4 separate regions of the Homo sapiens genome follow, and regions 1, 2 and 3 are each linked to region 4. The links are contacts of gene promoters, found by promoter capture Hi-C in human tissues and cell types (Jung and others, 2019). All regions are on one chromosome and are shown on one strand. The core of a region is centred on a gene start or on the middle of the fragment in contact, and the rest is flanking DNA. Distances in the headings are between cores, read along the strand shown.

Region 1 (2,949 bases), core at 253-2,752, 410 kb before region 4:
ATCACCTGAGGTCAGGAGTTTGAGTCCAGCCTGGCTAACATGGTGAAACCAGTCTCTACTGAAAATACAAAAATTAGCCGGGTGTGGTGGCACACACCTGTAATCTCAGCTACTGGAGAGGCTGAGGCAGGAGAATCGCTTGAACCCCAGGAGGTGGAGGTTGCAATGAGCCGAGATCCCACCACTGCACTCCAGCCTGGGTGACAGGGGGAGACTGTCTCAAAATAAATAAATACATAAAAAGAACAGACTTCCCCAAGCAGGTGGAGGTCTGGAGGACTGGGAAGGGTCTGTCTGGTGCCCCAGTCCCCTCCTGTGATCACACATAAAATAAGCTCTCCACGATCCAGAGAGCCCATCCTGAGCCTCCCCTCCACCCAGTCTCCCCAGGCCACCCAGCCACGCACCTCCTCCCCGGGGCCGCCCAGAAGGGCCTTGGCTCTGGCCATATCCGCAGCCTCCACCTTGATGAGCCGGTGCTTGGGAGAACCATACTTGGCATCTCCGGGGTTCTTGGAGTCCCCAGGGCCCGCGGGGTCCGGCTCCAAGCGGCTCTCCGCGTCCTCATAGGGGTCCTCGAAGTCCAGGTTCTTCTGCGCGCGGTAGGCCCTCAGGATGTCGCTCTCGGTGTAGTCCGGGGTGGGCGGCTGCGGAGGGGGCCTCCGACCCCCAAAGCTCAGGTAGTCCCGTAGCCACTTGGCCATTTGGGCGCCTGTCACCCCAATCGGGCCACTGTCAGAGGGGCCCCCACATGCCCTTCTCCGGGCCCCTTTCCCCAAGGAGGAGGAGGAGGTGGAGAGGAAGGGAAGAGCAGGGAAGGATGAGAAAGATCAGGTGCGCCCTTTGGCGGGGCTCTGGATGGATAGAGGGAAGGAAAAGGTGAACGAGGGGGAGGAAAAGGAGGCGACAGAGGAGGGAGGAAGAGAAGCCCGCCTTAGCCCAGCTTGGGAAGCACCGCGGGGGAAGGGGGGACCTCGCAGGGCCCCGAACCCCGCGCGCTGGGGGCTAGGGCGAGGGGCATCCGCGGAGGCGCGCGGAGTTTCCGCGGGCAGCGCGGTTCCCTGGAGCGACACGGCCGCCCGCCGCCTCCAGGAAGCTCCGGGATCCCTTCCTGGGGTCGGGAGATCCGGGCCAGCGCCACCTGCGGACGCTCCCGGCCCCTCTCCCAGCCCGGACGCCTGGGTTCTCAGCGCAGCGGGCGGGCTCCCCAGGGGCGCGGGCGCCGCGCGCAAAGTTGGGCCGCGGAGACTGTGACCCCGGCGGGACGCATCCTTTGTCGCGCTCCTCTCGGCTCAGCGGGGAGCCCCCAGTCCCGCGGCCCCCGCCGCCTCGATCCGGCCCCAGCCACCCGCACAAAGGGAAATAAAAACCTCCTCCAATCCCCCTTCACGCTTTCGGAGAGACTTTCCCCGCCGCCGCCGGGAGGTGGGACGCTGGGGAGGGGGGCGCGCAGGAGGACGCCCCTGTTCCCACCAGCCCCGGGCCGCGTCCCGGGCAGCAGCGTCAAGGCTCCCCCACCTCCCCTCCGCCGCGTCCCCCGCCCCTCCCCTCCCCCTGCGCTCCCCTCGGAGGTGACTGAGACCTTCAGCTGTTCTGGGGAGGGAGGGAGCCGCTGCCCGCGGAGGGAAGGGGGGCTGGGGGCGGGAGTCGCCGGGGCCGAGGCCGCGGCAGCTGGACACTGACCGGGACGCCCGAGACTGGCCGCAGCGAGCGCGGAGCGCGGGAGGTGGGGAGCAGCTGGGAGTGACACTGCTGGGGAGGGGAGGGGAGAGGGAGAAGGAGGGGAGGGGGAAATTGCCCGGGAAATGGGGGACTGCACTTGACCGCCAAAAGGGGTGAAATTGACCAGCAGAGGGGGTGGGAATGACCGCCAGTGAGGGTCGAAATGGAACCGATGTCTGGCGGTGAAACGGACCGGGAGAGTGGGGATGTGCAAATTGGTGGAGAGGTCACTGGCTGAAATTGATATTGGAGCAGCAGAAGGAAGAGGGGGGCAAAGGAAGGGTGGGTGCGGATCGGGCTTCCCCTCCCCCAAGAGGGCTCTGCTCTGTGCCCCGCTCCCGCCCCAGAGGACTAATTGCGGGCAGGGGGAGGGTTGGGGGCAGCTGGCTTGGGGAAGGGAGATGGTATCTGTGCCTGGCGCCTGTCCTCTGCATCTGTCCTTTTGTGGCTTCTGGGGGCGGGGTGGGGGGGAGCGGTGGCGGGAAGAGGGGCAGAAGTGAGAGGGGTCTGGCCTGAACTGGCTGCCTGTTGTCAGCTGTCGTTGTCTGAGGGTGAGGGCACTGAGAGGTTTGGGGGGTGGGAGAGGAAAAGGGAGCCACTGGCCAATTTTCCAGTGCAGAACCGTTTTTTTTCTTTCCCCATAAGGGGGCTTGCCCAGTTCCTCCTAATGAGGGGAGTGAGAGAGGGGTGGTCAGGAAGGATGGGACCCCAGATTCTCTCCTCTTGTGGCCAGCCCCCTGGTCAGGCACAGGTCATAGCTTGGAGAGCACAGTTGGAGGACAAGACAGAAGTCAGAACCAACACTGCTATGACTGGGGCCTCCTGGCAGCCCGGCGGGGCTGAGGGCAGGGTCTGTCACTCCCTGAGTCTTGGTTTTCCTTATTTGAAAGATGTGGTTTCTAACAGGAAATCCCAGACAGCTCTAGGAAGGATTCCAGGAGGGACCGAGCTATCACCTGGCTTCCTCATTTTATGGATGGGGAAACCGAGGCACAGAGATGGGAGGGACTTGTTCAGAGCCACTCCACAGCTGATTCTGCCTGCACATCGCCGTGGGGCCTGGCCTAGGGTGGCACTGGAGTCTCTCTTTTTATTTTTTTGAGACGGAGCCTTGCTCTGTCCTCCAGGCTGGAGTGCCGTGTTGCGATCTCAGCTCACTGAAACCTCCACCTCCCAGGTCCAACCAATTCTCCTGCCTCAGCCTCCTGAGTAGCTGGGATTACTGCC
Region 2 (2,700 bases), core at 9-2,508, 430 kb before region 4:
ATCATGGCTTACTGCAGCCTCCAACTCCTGGGCTCAAGCGGTTCTCCTGCCTCAGCCTCCCGAGTGGCTGGGACTATAGGCATGCACCATCACCCTGGGTTGGTTTTGTATCTTTTTTTTTTTTTTTGAGACACAGTCTCACTCTGTCGCCCAGGCTGGAGTGCAGTGGCAGGATCTCGGCTCCCTGTAATCTCCATCTCCCCAGTTCTGGCGATTCTCCTGCCTCAACCCCACTGAGTAGCTGGGACTACAGGCGCCCACCACTAGGCCCAGCTAATTTTTGTATTTTTAGTAGAGACCGGGTTTTGCCATGTTGGCTAGGCTGGTCTTGAACTCCTGACCTCAGGTGATCCACCCGCCTTGGCCTCCCAAAGTGCTGGGATTACAGGCCTGGGCCACCATGCCCAGCCTGTATCTTTTTTTTTTTTTTTTTTTTTTTAATAGAGATTGGATCTCGCTGTGTTACCCCAGGTTGATCTTAAACTCGGCTCAAGTGATCCTCCCACCTCAGCCTCACAAAGTGCTGGGATTACAGGTGTGAGCTACAGCGCCCAGCAAAAGAAAGACATTTTGGGAGCAAAATAATTGAGGCAGGGACCCTGTCATTTAACTCACTGCTCAGGCCTATGTCGCCTGCCCCTCCCCCACGGAGCCACCTGCTCTCGCACTGTGTCTTCCTGTACCTAGATGTGTTTATGTAGAGCCTTCCAGAAAGCTCACAGGGGTGGATTCCTCCCACTCACTTGCATACACTGCCTTTCTTTTCTTTTTTTCTGAGACGGAGTTTCACTCTTGTCGCCCAGGCTGGAGTGCAGTGGCGTGATCTTGGCTCACTGCAACCTCCGCCTCCCGGGTTTAAGCCATTCTCCTGCCTCAGCCTCCCAAGTAGCTGGGATTATAGGCGCCCATCACCATGTCCAGCTAATTTCTGTATTTTTAGTAGAAATTAGTAGGGGTTTCATCATGTTGGCCAAGCTGGTCTCGAACTCCTGACCTCAGGTGATCCACCTGCCTCGGCCTCCCAAAGTGCTGGGATTACAGACATGAGCCATGTTGCCTGGTCCGTACACTGCCTTTCAGATAGAAAATGCATTGGGGAAACTGAGGCACGAGGTGGCAGGAAGTGGAGCCCCCAGCAGGCTGGAACACCGGACGTCTGTTGTCTGGCCCTGGGTGTTGCATCTGCTTCTGCAGCGGGAGGCGGAGATTGTGGCAGGAAGTCTGTCAACTGGGAGGGGGAGAGGGGGGTGATGGGCCAGGAATGGGGTCCCCGGGCATGGTGCTGGGCCTCCTGGTGCAGATCTGGGGTGAGTATCTGGGCCTCCCTCCCCTCTGAACCCCACTCTTGCTGTCATCCCCAGCTGCCTGCCCCCCAGCTCAGGGCCCCTCTAAACTTCAGTCTCTCTACTGTCAGATAAGGCCCATCTCCCTCCGAGACTCAGAACGTGATGGGGGCTGGAGGATTAAGGAAGGATCCTCTGAGGGCCCCTAGGATACAATCTAAACCTTGCCCTACATACCAGCCTGGCCTGGCCTCTCTCATCTCCACCCTCCGCAGTGCCTTTGCTCCCTCCCTCTTGCTCTAGCCTGGGGACTTTTCTTTCTCTGTTTCCGCAATGGGAAGGCTGGATCTGGCCTTCGAGCCTTTGCACCTGCTGTTCCAGCTGCCTAATACCCTTCTCCAGATCTCATGTCTCTACCCTCCTCTGCAATTGCATCTCAAATGCCAGGAACTTCACATAACCTCAACTTCTCCGGGGGTCTAACAGACACGTCAGACTTCTCACAGCTAAAAGCAGACTTTCTACTCCGGCAGCAGCTCCCTCTGTGTTTCCAATTAAGGACAAAGGCTGCTGCCCTTCACACATTTCCTGGGGCGAAAACCTCCATTCCTCTTTCCCTCTCCTCTGATTCCAGCCGCTTGCACTTTTTTGTTGTTCATTTGTGTTTTTTTGTTTGTTTGTTTTGTTTTGTTTTGAGAAGGAGTCTTGCTCTGTCACCCAGGCTAGAGTGCAGTGACGCGATCTCGGTTGACTGCAACCTCTGCCTCCCAGGTTCAAGAGATTCTCCTGCCTCAGGCTCCCGAGTAGCTGGGACTGCAGGCGCGCGCCACTGCGCCTGGCTAATTTTTTTTGTATTTTTAGTAGAGACGGGGTTTCGCCATCTCGGCCAGGTGGGTCTCGAACTCCTGACCTCATGATCCACCCACCTTGGCCTCCCAAAGTGCTGGGATTACAGGCGTGAGCCACCGTGCCCAGTCATTTTTGTTTTTTAGAGATGGGTCTCACTATGTTGCCCAGGCTGGTCTTGAACTCCTGGCCTCAAGCAATCACCCAGTCTTGGCCACCCAAAGGGCTGGGATAACAGGCATGAGCCACCACACCCAACCAAGGTCTTTTTATTAAAACTTAAATTGGAGACTGAGGCAGGTGGATCACTTGAGGTCAGGAGTTCCAGACCAGCCTGGCCATGTTGGTGAAACCCCATCTCTACCAAAAATACAAAAATTAGCTGGGCGTGGTAGCGAGTGCCTGTAGTCCCAGCTACTCAAGAGGCTGAGCCACAAGAATCACTTGAACCTGGGAGGCAGAGGTTGCAATGAGCCGAGATCACACCACTGCACTCCCACCTGGGCAACAGAGTGAGACCCCATCTCAAAACAAAAACAAAAACAAAAACAAAAACTTCAATTGGACTATT
Region 3 (2,700 bases), core at 39-2,538, 270 kb before region 4:
CTCTGTGAGGGCAGGGGTTTTGTCTCATCCAATGCCTGGCACTTAGTAGGGTTTCAATAAAAATGTGTCAAATCAATGAACCTTAAGAAAAGTGACTCACAGTAGTTTGATAATAAAGAACATGGCTGGCCGGGTGCGGTGGCTCACGACTGTAATTCCAGCACTTTGGGAGGCCGAGGGGGGGCGGATCACAAGGTCAGGAGATTGAAACCATCCTGGCTAACACGGTGAAACCCCGTCTCTACTAAAAATACAAAAAAAAATTAGCCAGGCGTGGTGGCAGGTGCCTGTAGTCCCAGCTACCTGGGAGGCTGAGGCAGGAGAATGGCGTGAACCCAGGAGGCGGAGCTTGCAGTGAGCCGTGATCTCGCCACTGCACTCCAGTCTGGGTGACAGAGCGAGACTCTCTGAAAAAACAAAACAAAACAAAACAAAACAAAACAAAAAAAGAACAAGGCCAAAAGCAAAACAAAACAAAACAAACAAACATGACCATGTTTCATGTCCCAAATGCCTCCCAATATAATCACAGCCTGTATTGCGGTGGGCAAATTAGAGCCCACAGCTCACTGCCTATTGTTGTACAGCCTGAGTTAAAAACTGATTTTATGGCCGGGGCATGGTGGCTCCCGCCTGTAATCCCAGCACTTTGAGGGGCTGAGGTGAGAGGATTGCTTGAGCACAGGAGTTCAAGATCAGCCTAGGCAACACAGGGAGTCCCTGTCTCTACAAAAAATTTAAAAATTAGCCAGGCATGGTGGGAAGTGCCCGTAGTCCAGGCTACTCAGGGGCTTGAGGTGGGAGGATCACCAGAGCCAAGGAGTTGGAAGCTGCGGTGAGCTATGACTGCACCACCGCACTCCAGCCTGGGTGCCAGGTGAGATCCTGTCTCTAAAAAATTTGTTTTAAATTATTTTATTGCCAGCATAATAGGTCACGCCTATAACCTCAGCACTTTAGGAGGCCAAGGTGACAAGATAGCTTGAGCCCAGGAGTTTGAGATCAGCCTGGGAAACAAAGTGAAACCTGTCTCTACAAAAAGTTTAAAAATTAGCAGGGCATGGTGGCACATGCCTGTGGTCTCAGCTACTTGGGAGGCTAAGGTGAGAGGATCACTTAAGCCCAGGAATTAGAGGCCGTGGTGAGCTATGATCATGCCACTGCACTCCAATTTGAGTGACAGACACCCTGTCTTTCTAAAAAAAGAAAAGTGAAGGCCGGGCGCGGTGGCTCATGCCTGTAATCCCAGCACTTGGGAGGCCGAGGTGGGCAGATCACGAGGTCAGGAGATCGAGACCATCCTGGTTAACATGGTGAAACCCCGTCTCTACTAAAAACACAAAAAATTAGCCGGGCGTGGTGGCGGATGCCTGTAGTCCCAGCTACTCGGGAGGCTGAGGCAGAAGAATGGCGTGAACCCGGGAGGCGGAGCTTGCAGTGAGCCGAGATTGCACCACTGCACTCCAGCCTGGGTGACAGAGTGAGACTCCGTCTCAAAAAAAAAAAAAAAAAGAAAAGAAAAGAAAAAAAGAAAAGTGGAAACTGAGGCTCAGAGGGTTGAAATGAGTTTCTCAAGACCCCATGTTTCTGCGAGATTCCCTATTTACCAAATTCTCCAAACAGGACCTCAAATTCCTCACAGGAAGTGCAGAGATCACATTGACAAATCAATAATTCCATAAATTGCATGTCAGAGAGAGCGCTGCACACACCCATTTGATCTTGCTAAGCCTGGGAAATTTTTAATTGCCCCTGTTTAAAAAAAAAAAAGTCATTGCACTTTCTAGAACCTTGGGTTTGGAACTTTGCTCAGAGTGATTTCGACATGTTGTGAAAACCTCATTTTAACTTTATCTTTCTTCCAGGCATTTCACTTCAATCAGAACTTGGTAAGGCCGGGCGCGGTGGCTCACGCCTGTAATCCTAGCAATTTGGGAGGTGGAGGTGGGCGGATCACCTGAGGTCAGGAGTTTGAGACCAGCCTGGCCAACATGGCGAAACCCCATCTCTACTAAAAATACAAAGATTAGCCGGGTTTGGTGGCACATGCCTGTAATCTCAGCTGCTCGGGAGGCTGAGGCAGGAGAATCGCTTGAACCCAGGAGGCAGAGGTTGCAATGAGCCGAGATCATGCCACTGCACTCCAGCCTGGGCAACAGAGCGAGACTCTATCTCAAAATATAATAATAATAAAAATAAATAAATAAATCATGGGAAAGCGAAAAAATACATTTTATGTGTTTTCCTTCCCTCCCGCAATTAAACCCCTTTCATTTTCCCATGTTCTCTCGCAGTTCCCATTCATCTGCACAAATCTTTGATTGCAGAGCGATAAAATAAATGTCATCATGAGCATCCATCGGCCAGGACGTGGCACAAAGTCATAAAACAACTCTAGGCTGGGCACAGTGGCTCACTCCTGTAATCCCAGCACTTTAGGAGGCCGAGGCAGGTGCATCACAAGGTCAAGAGATCAAGACCATCCTGGCCAACATGGTGAAACCCTGTCTCTACTAAAAATACAAAAAATTAGCCAGGCGTGGTGGCATGTGCCTGTAGTCCCAGCTACTCGGGAGGCTGAGGCAGGAGAATCACTTGAACCCAGGAGGCGGAGGTTGCAGTGAGCCGAGATTGCGCCACTGCACTCCAGCCTGGCGACAGAGTGAGACTCCATCTCAAAAAAAAAAAAAAAAAGAAAGA
Region 4 (2,732 bases), core at 4-2,503:
TTTAGTAGAGACAGGGTTTTGCCATGTTGGCTAGGCTGCTCTTGAACTCCTGACCTTGGGTGAGCTGCCCACCTCGCCTTCCCAAAGTGCTGGGATTACAGGCGTGAGCCACCACGCCCAGCCCTTTCTTTCTTTTCTCTTTTTTGAGACAGGGTCTCACTCTGGAGTGCAGTGGTACAGTCACAGATCACTGCAGCCTTGACAGCCCAGGCTCAAGTGATCCTCCCACCTTAGCCTCCTGAGTAGCTGGGACCACAGGCATGTACCACCATGACCAGCTAATTAAAAAAAAATTGTAGAAACAGGGTCTTGCTATGTTGCCCAGGCTAGTCTCAAAGTCCTAGGGCTCAAGATCCTCCTGCCTCCGCCTCTCAAAATGTTGGGATTACAGACGTGAGCCACTGTGCCCGGCCTATCATTTATTTATATCACGTTGTGAACACAGGAGGCAGAGACCATGGGGGCCTTCTGAAGAGTCATTCTGAGGCTAGATGCAGTGGCTCACGTCTGTAATCCCAGCACTTTTGGAGGCCAAGGCAAGATTATTTGAGGCCAGGAGTTCAACATCAGCCTGGGCAACATAGCAAGACACTGTCTCTACAAAAAATTTAAAAATTAGCTGGCTGTGGTGGTGGTGGGGCTTGAGCAGAGACCTCCACATCTGAGTGGTTAAAGAGAAGGTGGGGCTCGGAGACAGAGGTAGGGCTTGTGCAGAGACCATATCTGAGCAGGTAAAGGGAAGGCGGGGCTCCGAGAAAGAGGCGGGGCTTGTGGCATGGGTGGGGCTTGAGCAGAGACCTCCACACCTGAATGGTTAAAGGGAAGGTACGGTTCCAAAAAAAGGCGGGGCTTGTGGCATGGGTGGGGGTTGAGCAGAGATCACATCTGAGTGGGTAAAGGGAAGGCAGGGCTCTGAGTAAGAGGCGGGGCTTGTAGCATGGGCGGGACTTGATCAGATACCACCACATCTGAGTGGTTAAAGGGAATGTGGGGCTCCGAGAAAGAGGCAGGGCTTCTAGCATGGGCGGGGCTTGAGCAGAGACCTCCACATTTGAGTGGTTAAGAGGAGGGCGGGGCTCTGCGTAGGAGGCGGGGCCTCGGGGCAGGTGTGGTCGCGGGGCGGTGTCTCCCTAGCCTAAGAGAAGGAAGCGAGAAGGTGAGGGCTTCGCGCAGGGGGCGGAGCTTGGGGCGCGTGGCCAGGCGCGAGCGGCACGCGGCTCGGGGGCGGGGCGGGTGACGTCGCGGGTCCGCCAGGCTCGGGGAAGACGCCAAGATGGCGACGAGTCAGTATTTCGACTTCGCGCAGGGCGGCGGCCCGCAGTACAGGTAACTGCCCCGCCGCGCCAGCCCCCGCCAGTCCCGGCCCCTGCAGCCTGGCCGGGACCCCGCCTACCCCTTCTCCCGCCGCGTGCGCCCGGCCCGGCCCCAGTCCCAGCCCCAACCTGGAACCCCGGCCTGAGGGAAGCCGCGGCGCCGGGAGAAGCAGGCGGGGCGGCCTCAGGTTAGGCACCGGGCGGGATGCGGGCTCCGGGGCTCCGGCTGAGACGTCTCTGCAGCCAACGGTGTCTGTCGGCGGGAGCGGGAGGGGGCTCCTGAAGTGGGAGGGGGCCTGGGTTTGGGCCTGGGCCTGTGCGGGGTCGGGGGGGTCAGCCCCTGATGGGGGCGCCACGAGGAGGGCAGCGAGAGGGGACAGACCCGGGCGGGGGGTGGGTGGTCTGACCGAGGAGGGGAGGGGACGGAACTGACCCAATGCAGGGAGGAGACCTGGGAGGTGCCTGGCCGGGGAGTGGGTGGGGATGGGCAGAGGGGAGCTGACCCCTGATTGCTGGTAGGGGAAGAGAAGACACAGACCTAGGAGGGTGTCTGGCTGGGCAGGAGGAGGGGAAGGGCAGAGGGGCATTGACCCCCGATTGCGGGGGGAGGAGAAGACACAGACCTGGGAGGGTGCCTGGCCGGGCAGGGGGATGGACAGAGGGTAGCTGACCCCCGATTACTTGTAGGGGAGGAGAAAACAGAGATCAGCGAGGGTTCCTGGCTGGGCAGGAGGAAGCCACAGTCGAGGGGTGAGGAATTGGCCCCTGATGGGGGTAAGAGAGAAGACAGAAACCTGGGAGGGTGTCTGGCTGGACAGGGGGAGAGCTAGAGCGGAGCTGACCCCGATTGCTGGTAGGGGGAGAGAATTCAGACCTGGGAGGGTGTCTGGCTGGGCAGGAGGAGGGGAAGGGCAGAGGGGCGTTAATCCCCGATTGCTGGAGGAGGAGAAGGCAGAGACCTGGGAAGTTTCCCGACTGGGCAGGGGGCAGCAACATTCGAGTGTGGAGGGCACTGACCCCTGATGGTGGGGGTAGGAGAGAAGGCAGAGACCTGGGAGGGTACCTAGCAGGCAGGGGCAGAGACCTGGGGTGGGGTGTGGAGTAGGGGTGGGAACCTGACCCCTGATGTGGGGTGGAGGAGAGAAGACAGAGACCTGGGAGGTTACCCCAGGGAGGGGCGGAAACCGAGGTTGGTGGGGAACTGAGGCCTGACTGGGGAAGGGGGACAGAGACTTGGCGGGAAGCCAGTATTATGTGGGAGGAGGTCCTGAGGTCAAATAAGAGGGTGGGCACCTGGGTTTCCAGGGAACTGGGACCCTGCTGGGACAGTGAGGAGGGAGAAAGGGCCCTGAGTGTTGTGATATTTAAGATCCTTTTCTAGGTCTTAAATATGTGGTCGTTTGGGAGGGGAGGGAGAGA

Evidence for each region. The method cuts DNA at HindIII sites, captures the fragments that hold promoters and counts their contacts. A contact is called where the count stands out against the background at its distance.
Region 1: the fragment with the promoter of SHD here is called in contact with the fragment with the promoter of ZFR2 in region 4 in 2 of the 25 tissues and cell types used here (liver and spleen).
Region 2: the fragment with the promoter of TMIGD2 here is called in contact with the fragment with the promoter of ZFR2 in region 4 in 3 of the 25 tissues and cell types used here (lymphoblastoid cells, pancreas and stomach).
Region 3: a contact is called between a fragment that was not itself captured here and the fragment with the promoter of ZFR2 in region 4, in 1 of the 25 tissues and cell types used here (stomach).

What each region holds. Positions count from the first base shown.
Region 1 is chr19:4,277,819-4,280,767 of GRCh38, reverse strand. It overlaps SHD (Src homology 2 domain containing transforming protein D), which reads right to left and starts at 1,502. Exons shown (of 6, transcript NM_020209.4): 1 at 408-1,502. The coding sequence starts at 704. The HindIII fragment of the contact is 14,506 bases long and covers 1-2,949 here.
Region 2 is chr19:4,300,947-4,303,646 of GRCh38, reverse strand. It overlaps TMIGD2 (transmembrane and immunoglobulin domain containing 2), which reads left to right and starts at 1,258. Exons shown (of 5, transcript NM_001169126.2): 1 at 1,258-1,307. The coding sequence starts at 1,262. RefSeq lists an enhancer at 1,252-1,797. The HindIII fragment of the contact is 29,023 bases long and covers 1-2,700 here.
Region 3 is chr19:4,135,950-4,138,649 of GRCh38, reverse strand. No RefSeq gene overlaps it. Among named protein-coding and RNA genes, the nearest start is that of MAP2K2, 13 kb to the right of the region's middle. The HindIII fragment of the contact is 7,667 bases long and covers 1-2,700 here.
Region 4 is chr19:3,867,559-3,870,290 of GRCh38, reverse strand. It overlaps ZFR2 (zinc finger RNA binding protein 2), which reads left to right and starts at 1,253. Exons shown (of 19, transcript NM_015174.2): 1 at 1,253-1,326. The coding sequence starts at 1,274. The HindIII fragment of the contact is 14,046 bases long and covers 1-2,732 here.